Linked DNA regions of Homo sapiens: all the other regions are linked to region 1. Evidence: promoter capture Hi-C in human tissues and cell types (Jung and others, 2019). All regions are on one chromosome and are shown on one strand. Each heading gives the region's core, a stretch centred on a gene start or on the middle of the fragment in contact. The rest is flanking DNA. Distances are from core to core; before and after follow the strand shown.

What was found. The method cuts DNA at HindIII sites, captures the fragments that hold promoters and counts their contacts. A contact is called where the count stands out against the background at its distance.
Region 2: the fragment with the promoter of AIRE here is called in contact with a fragment that was not itself captured in region 1 in 2 of the 25 tissues and cell types used here (spleen and stomach).
Region 3: a contact is called between the fragment with the promoter of ICOSLG here and a fragment that was not itself captured in region 1, in 2 of the 25 tissues and cell types used here (dorsolateral prefrontal cortex and spleen).

Annotation. Positions count from the first base shown.
Region 1 is chr21:44,098,622-44,101,141 of GRCh38, forward strand. All of the region lies in intron 21 of TRAPPC10 (trafficking protein particle complex subunit 10), which reads left to right. Among named protein-coding and RNA genes, the nearest start is that of PWP2, 7.5 kb to the right of the region's middle. The HindIII fragment of the contact is 4,324 bases long and covers 1-2,520 here.
Region 2 is chr21:44,284,621-44,287,140 of GRCh38, forward strand. It overlaps AIRE (autoimmune regulator), which reads left to right and starts at 1,256. Exons shown (of 14, transcript NM_000383.4): 1 at 1,256-1,518; 2 at 1,937-2,111; 3 at 2,358-2,513. The coding sequence starts at 1,387. RefSeq lists enhancers at 1-133, 134-735. The HindIII fragment of the contact is 44,459 bases long and covers 1-2,520 here.
Region 3 is chr21:44,239,686-44,242,205 of GRCh38, forward strand. It overlaps ICOSLG (inducible T cell costimulator ligand), which reads right to left and starts at 1,258. Exons shown (of 7, transcript NM_015259.6): 1 at 1,119-1,258. The coding sequence starts at 1,132. RefSeq lists an enhancer at 1-513 and cis regulatory regions at 1,069-2,068, 1,069-1,993, 1,069-1,984. The HindIII fragment of the contact is 7,916 bases long and covers 1-2,520 here.

The DNA.
Region 1 (2,520 bases), core at 11-2,510:
CAGCCTATCTTGCATTTTGAATGGCTCTTTTACCCAGGCATCATAGCGTTACACCCTGTGCCATTAGTCATGTGGGAAACATGGTTTCCTGAGTTGTGCAGATCTTCCAAATGTGGGCACCTTTCGTTTGACAATATTTTTTTAAAATCTGCATTTGTGATCTCTCAGGGAGGGCTTGGAGCATCAGAACTCTTTCAAGCTCACAGTGGCAAGTGTAAGTTTTCCAAAATTCTGATTTTTGCTTAAAGTCTCAGATGGCATCATTGGCAGCAAATAGTCGTGTTGTTTTCTTTGAAGTGACAGGCTTACATCATTCATTTTTAATCAGACGTCTACCAAATACCCAACACTGAATAACTAGCTTCCCCAGCGCTCTTGCAAGTGAAAAGGGCGTTCTGTGAAAACAGCGGCTATTTCAGCTCGCAGCACCGAGCGCTCCCCGTGTGCTTTCCCTGAGCCAGCTGTCATTCTGCAGCAGAGACCCAGAGAATGTCAAGAACACAAGCACTCAAGAATGGAAATAACTCAAACGTCCTTCAGCTCGAGAGCGGTTAAACTGGCACATCTGATTCCTCCTCAGCAGTGAAACAGAAGGGACTGTTGACACACGCAGTGCTGTGGTTGGATCTCAAGGGCATTATACTAAGAGAAAAACGCCAGTCCTATAAGGAGGTGTACTGTGTGATTCCATTTCTAAATGACATCCTCAAAATGCCAGCCTCAGAAGGAGAGCGGGTCAGTGTTCCACGGAGCAGTGGGAGGCAGCAGGAGGCCGTCCTCTGTGGTAATGGAGAGTTCTGGGCCAGGGCCGCTGTGGTTGTTACACGAATCTACACATGTGACAAATGCCATAGAATTAGACCCAAAGAATGCCTGCGAAAGCTGCTGAAATCCAGTGGGGTCTGCAGCCTGGTTCACTCTGTAGTGAAATCCAGTGGGGTCTGCAGCCTGGTTCTATCTGTATTGAAATCCAGTGGGGTCTGCAGCCTGGTCCACTCTGTAGTGAAATCCAGTGTGGTCTGCAGCCTGGTTCTATCTGTATTGAAATCCAGTGGGGTCTGCAGCCTGGTCCACTCTGTAGTGAAATCCAGTGGGGTCTGCAGCCTGGTTCTAGCTGTATTGAAATCCAGTGGGGTCTGCAGCCTGGTCCACTCTGTAGTGAAATCCAGTGGGGTCTGCAGCCTGGTTCTATCTGTATTGAAATCCAGTGGGGTCTGCAGCCTGGTTCACTCTGTAGTGAAATCCAGTGGGGTCTGCAGCCTGGGTCACTGTATGGTACCAGTGTCAGCTTCCTGTGTTACACGAGATGGCACAGTTGGGTGAAGCTGGTGATGAAGGTATGTGACCCCTCTACTACTTTTACAACTTCTTGTGAGTCTATAAACATTTCACAATTAAAAAAAAGTCTACTCAGGAGCTGAATTTAATAAAATGAGCACTTTTGACTGCTTTGTGAAGCGTGGCATTTTTTTTTTTGTTTTTTTGCTGTGAGTTCATGGTAGTAAAGAACATGAGTGACATGACTGCGCAGTCTGGCCCGAGTTCATGCCATTGTGGTTGCCCCAGCAGCGCGAGGTCAGCAGCGTAGAAAGGCAGCAGTGTGAAAGCTATGAGCTTGCGGGTGCCCTGAGAGCCACACTCTGAGAACTGTCACTCCTTTGCCTTCCTCCTGACACTCCTAGGGCCTCTGCATGTCCTGTAGTAGCTCCTGTCCTCAAAGGTCCCCCATCCCCAACTACAGGATGTCCACCTCCCTGAGCCCTTCTCTGCTGCTCGTGGCCTTCTGGTCACTCACTCCCCCTGGGCGGTTGCTCGGTATCCTCATGATGGGAAGCTGTGACCTCTTTACCAGGTCTACTGCTACTGGATGGCAAGGATCCTGTCTTGCTTACTTTCATATCTCCAGGGCTAGTCCCAGTGAATGATCACTTAAGTGTTTGAATTGCATTGAATTACATGATGGTTGTGTTTTAATAATTAATGTTAATAATAACACCTGCCATATATTAAGACACTACCATGTCCCAGGAGTGGTACTAAGTGCTTTACATACAAGGGGTCTTCAAAAAAATCATGGAAGATACGTTATGAAAAAACTATGCATGGATTTCAACACTTTTTGCACCAAAATAAGCTCCTACTCACTGAGCAGGATCTAGTTTGAGGCACTAAGAAGGATAAGACATCAGTTTTAAAAGAGCCCCTATCAGAGCAACATGAATTCTGCTAAAATTAAATCAAGAACCAACATTGGCCGGGTGCAGTGGCTCACGCCTGTAATCCCAGCACTTTGGGGGGCTGAGGCAGGCGGATCACCTGAGGTCAGGAGTTCAAGATCAGCCTGGCTAATATGGCGAAACCCCATCTCTACTAAGAATACAAAAATTAGCTGGGCGTGGTGGCAGGCGCCTATAAGCCCAGCTACTTGGGAGGCTGAGGCAGGAGAATTGCCTGAACCCAGGAGGCGGAGGTTGCAGTGAGCCAAAATTGCGCCACTGCACTCCAGCCTGGGCAACGAGC
Region 2 (2,520 bases), core at 6-2,505, 190 kb after region 1:
CCCACGTGGGAATCTTGGTGGCGTCTCTCACTGCATCAGTTAGCCCCCAGCCCAGTGCTGCCTGGATTCAGGCTTCCTGGTACCTTCGTCCACCCTTCAGCCCTAATCCATGCTGGCCAGGTCATCTCGTTCTCTGGCTCAGTGGGAACACTCGTGCCCAGAGACCTCTCGTGGTTCTCTGCAGCCTGCACACAGGGCCTGCTTCCCTGGCTTGACCGCACAGACAAGGGGACTGTTACCAAGGCCTCCCACTGAGGCCACCCCCCCTCCAGGCCATGCCTGCGGGGCCACCACAGCCTCAGCATCATTGCAGGCCCCAGGCCTCTGCACCTGGTCTTGTTTTACTGGGGGCACTGTCCCCACTCACGTCCACCTGGGACCCTCGGCTCCTGTCCACTGCAGCTCCCCTCCCGGACACCTTCCCAGATGCCCCCGGAAGCTCCTGTCCAGGCCACAGCATCCCTCAGCCTCTGTCACTGGTCCTAGGAAGACCCTTTGGGAGCTCTCACTCAGGGCCACACTCAGGACCCCCGTTGTGGGGCTGGCCGCCTTCCTTCTAAAGCACCTGGAGGAAGGAAGGAGGGGGTCAATGCGAGCCTCAATCCCCAGGCGAGTGTGCCCCTTTTAAAGATGAGGGAACCGAGGCTCAGAGAAGGAAAGGACTTGCCTGGCGTCACACAGCTAGCCTAAGATGGTGAGGTCAGGAGCTCCCTGGCAACACCCAGGCTGCCGTACCGTCTCCTGCATCAGACTGAGCCTCCATCGGGCTCCTCCCACAGCCCCAGGCGGGCCCCTGAGTAGGGGCTCTCAGCTTGTGTGGAGGTCCCCCAGGAACACCACCCCGATCCAGCCTCCATGGAGGCTCTTGCCGGCCACTGGGAGGGGCCGGTGCACCCTGGGCAGCCCCTGCCAGGGCCCTGAGACCCGAGCCTCCCCGCCGAGGGCACCTGTCTCGGCTTTGCCCCATTCGAGCAGGGCCCTCGCCGAGGCAGGACAGGGCCACATTCGGAAGTGAGAGTTCTCTGAGTCCCGCACAGAGCGAGTCTCTGTCCCCAGCCCCCAAGGCAGCTGCCCTGGTGGGTGAGTCAGGCCAGGCCCGGAGACTTCCCGAGAGCGAGGGAGGGACAGCAGCGCCTCCATCACAGGGAAGTGTCCCTGCGGGAGGCCCTGGCCCTGATTGGGCGCCGGGGCGGAGCGGCCTTTGCTCTTTGCGTGGTCGCGGGGGTATAACAGCGGCGCGCGTGGCTCGCAGACCGGGGAGACGGGCGGGCGCACAGCCGGCGCGGAGGCCCCACAGCCCCGCCGGGACCCGAGGCCAAGCGAGGGGCTGCCAGTGTCCCGGGACCCACCGCGTCCGCCCCAGCCCCGGGTCCCCGCGCCCACCCCATGGCGACGGACGCGGCGCTACGCCGGCTTCTGAGGCTGCACCGCACGGAGATCGCGGTGGCCGTGGACAGCGCCTTCCCACTGCTGCACGCGCTGGCTGACCACGACGTGGTCCCCGAGGACAAGTTTCAGGTGGGCTCCCCGCCCGCCCCCCGCTGCCCCCAGGCCCTGTGAGCCAGGGATAGTCCCCGGGGAAGTTCCAGGAGGACCCCGCCCCTCCAGATCCCCAAGCCCCTCCAGCCTTCCCCAACTCCCTCCCCACAAGGAGCCAGGGGCGTCCCTGATGACAAGTTAGAAGTTGGTCCCCTTCCCCCAGCCGTCCCCACACCTCACCCCCAAGCCAAGGGAATGGCCTCCAGGTTCCCCCAGCCCCACCCTCAACACCCCTACACCACCACCTGACTCCACCACAAGCCGAGGAGATGGGCGTGGAGCTGTCCAGGTCGCCAGCGCCTCTGCCTGGGAGCTCCACCCTCTAGTCATGATGGAGATGGGCAGGCCGCAGGGTGTGGGGGACCATGGCAGGGACCCTCATGCCACCCCACTGCAGGAGACGCTTCATCTGAAGGAAAAGGAGGGCTGCCCCCAGGCCTTCCACGCCCTCCTGTCCTGGCTGCTGACCCAGGACTCCACAGCCATCCTGGACTTCTGGAGGGTGCTGTTCAAGGACTACAACCTGGAGCGCTATGGCCGGCTGCAGCCCATCCTGGACAGCTTCCCCAAAGGTGGGTCCTGGTGGACTCAGCCATGCTGGGGGCCTGGGGCAGCTGCTGTCACCTGCTCAGCCCAGCTGGACTGGAACCGGAGTGGTGTTTGAGGAGCCCGTGGGTGATGTTCCAGGACCGTCTTGGATCCTAAGAGGCAAAGGGGCCAGGCCTCACCTGTCTGGCCAAGGTGTCCAGTTCTGGGGCCCACCCTACCCCTGGAGAAAACCCTGAGGTTGGGACCCTGCTCCTGCCCCTGAGCTGCAGATGTGGACCTCAGCCAGCCCCGGAAGGGGAGGAAGCCCCCGGCCGTCCCCAAGGCTTTGGTACCGCCACCCAGACTCCCCACCAAGAGGAAGGCCTCAGAAGAGGCTCGAGCTGCCGCGCCAGCAGCCCTGACTCCAAGGGGCACCGCCAGCCCAGGTACCCT
Region 3 (2,520 bases), core at 8-2,507, 140 kb after region 1:
CCCAGAGCCACCATCTAAACGACAGCTGTGAGAACTCCTCTGTGCCCCCATTTGTCTCCCACAGTGCCCATATTCATCACCAGCCCACAAGGCCCCTCCTGTCTATGGAGGCCTCCTCAGGACATCTGGGGGCTTCCTGGGCCAGGGTGGGGGGTGCCTGCTCCAGGCTGTTTCTGGCTTGTCCCCTCCCTGGGTGCTGCCTAAGCAGCGGCCTCTGTGTCCTTTCCTTGGACCCTCAGCACCCCTGCATCTAACCTACCCCCACCCCGAGCTTGCCTCAAGACCCAGCATGGACAGGGCCGCCTACCTGAAGGTGTGGGTGGCGGAGGGCTAAGACATTTGGGAGGGCTATGACATTCCGGGACCTTTAAATTCTTTCTCTCTAGGGCAGGATCATAACTGCATACACTTCTAATGGGGAGGGGACCTGGGGAGTGTGACTCCGGTGTGGCCCAGCTCTGAGCTGTGCGGGAGGCATCCCTGGGGTCAGGGGCCTCACAGGTTCACCCAGGGGAGCACAGGCTGCGGACCCTACAACGTGGGTTGCGAAGAGTATATTTTGGATATTTTCGCAAAAATCCAGGAGGAAGCTGTCACTCCTGGTTCAGGCAGCCCCGCCTTCCCCAGTGTGGATCGGCTGCCGGGCTGCGGGGAATCCCACGTGTGTGGGGGAGGGCGTGTCCGCAGACCGTGGGCACCAGCTGGCCTTGGAGAGCGCTCGGCCGGTCACCTCCCTCCTTCTCCCTTCTTCTAGGAAATCAGCAGTGCCAGGGAGTGGAAGGGGCAGCGCCCGTGCCCCGGCGTGCAGGGTGCGCCCGCCTTCCCTCCCTCCTTCCAGCGTTCGCGGTCCTCCTTCCCTGGCAGGGACCCCGCCCCCGAGCCCGCCCCCGCACGGCTGTGCGTCCTGCCATGGGTCCCGGTGCCAGGCCCCGCCGCCCACTGCCGTCCACGCCCCGCCGGCCGCCCCGGCGCCTCCGCCGCCCGCTCCTCGGACCCGCACTGCCAGCCCGGCACCTCCAGGCGAGCCCCGCAGGCCCCGCGTCCGAGCCGAGCTGGGGACGCGCGGGCCGAGCCACCCCGCCCCTGACCGCGGCGCCTCCGCTCCTTCCCCGGCTCACCTGCCCAGCCGCATGGTGCGGGCGGAGACCTCGGGCCGCGGAGACCTCGGGGCGCGGAGACCTCGGGGCGCGGAGAACTTGGGCCGCGGGAGACCTCGGAGAGGAGCAACCTCGGGGCGCGGGAGATCGGCTCTAACTGCGCTCCCGCCGCGCCCGAGGCTCTGAGCGCCCAGCGCGCGGTGTGCTGGAGGCAGCCGTGTCCCCGCCCCGTCCCCGCCCCGCCCCCGGCCTGGCTCCTCTGGCGACCGAGACCGCCCCGGGACAGGAGGCGGGGCGCTGCGCGGCGGCTCCGGAAAGTTCGGCTCTGCCCAGGCGTGTGCCCGTCGGCCGGAGGCGGGACAGAGGCAGGTCGGCCTGTCCGCCTGGACGCGGACCTGGGCGCCGTAGGTGCCCTGGGAAGCGCAGGGGTGGGGGGTACCCGGCAGGAAGGTGGCCAGGGGTGCTGCGGGTGCCGGCGCAGCGAGGGAGGGCACCGTGGGAGGCAAGGGCCGTTCCCCGCGCCGCGCACAATGCGCCGGTCCTGCGGCCCTCCCCGAGCAGGAGTCCGGGGACCCAGGCCCCAAGGCTGGGAGAGCGCCAGGCCCCTGGCCGGCTGCGCTCCGATGATCTCCAGGACTTAAGGCGAGTGAGCTCAGCGACTGCTGAGGAATGAATGACTGAATGAACGCATGCATGAATGGAAGGAGGGAGGGAAAGTGGGCGGGCTCTACCCTCTGGGCCAGCCCCAGCCCGCCCCCACCTAGCCTTGCTCCCCTAGCCTTCTAGGGGTGTGAAGGGCGCTGGCGCAGCCTCTTTGCTTAACACTGGCTCTGAGGATCCCCCGCCGAGAAACCGAGGCAGGCTTGCGGCTCTGGGCTCGTCAGCCTTGGCAGTGGCGTCTGGCCTGGAGTCTGGGGCAGCTGGTTTGGGAAAGGCTGCACCACGCAACCGAGGGTGGGACCCAGAGTCCCTGCTCCTTCCCCACCGCACCCAGCCCACCCCGCCCTCCCTCCCTGATCCCTGCAAGCCAGGTGAGGCCCAGGGGGGACGTGACTCCCTTTCTGCAGAGGCACCTCCGGAAGGGCCTGGGTGAGGCTGCTAGACAGGGCAGCGGGGCACCCTCCTCCCGGAGCCCCCGCCTCTGGGCTGAGGCTCGGATCCCCACCGCCTCCTGCGCATGGAGGAGGCGAGAAGCGCAGGGAGACGGGGGCCCCAGACGGCACCCCGCAGGCTGCCATTCCTTCAACCAAGATGTAGAGAACGCCGTGGACAAAAGCTTTAAAAAAATTCTGAAACCTCTGCCCGTGGGAAGTCAACATTTTTGCGGAGCAGAGAGCCCAGGCACAAAATAAGAAGGCGGAAGAGACGGGCTGGGGGGATAGGGGGGACGGCGGCGGGGAAGGGCAGGGAGGGCGGCGGCGAA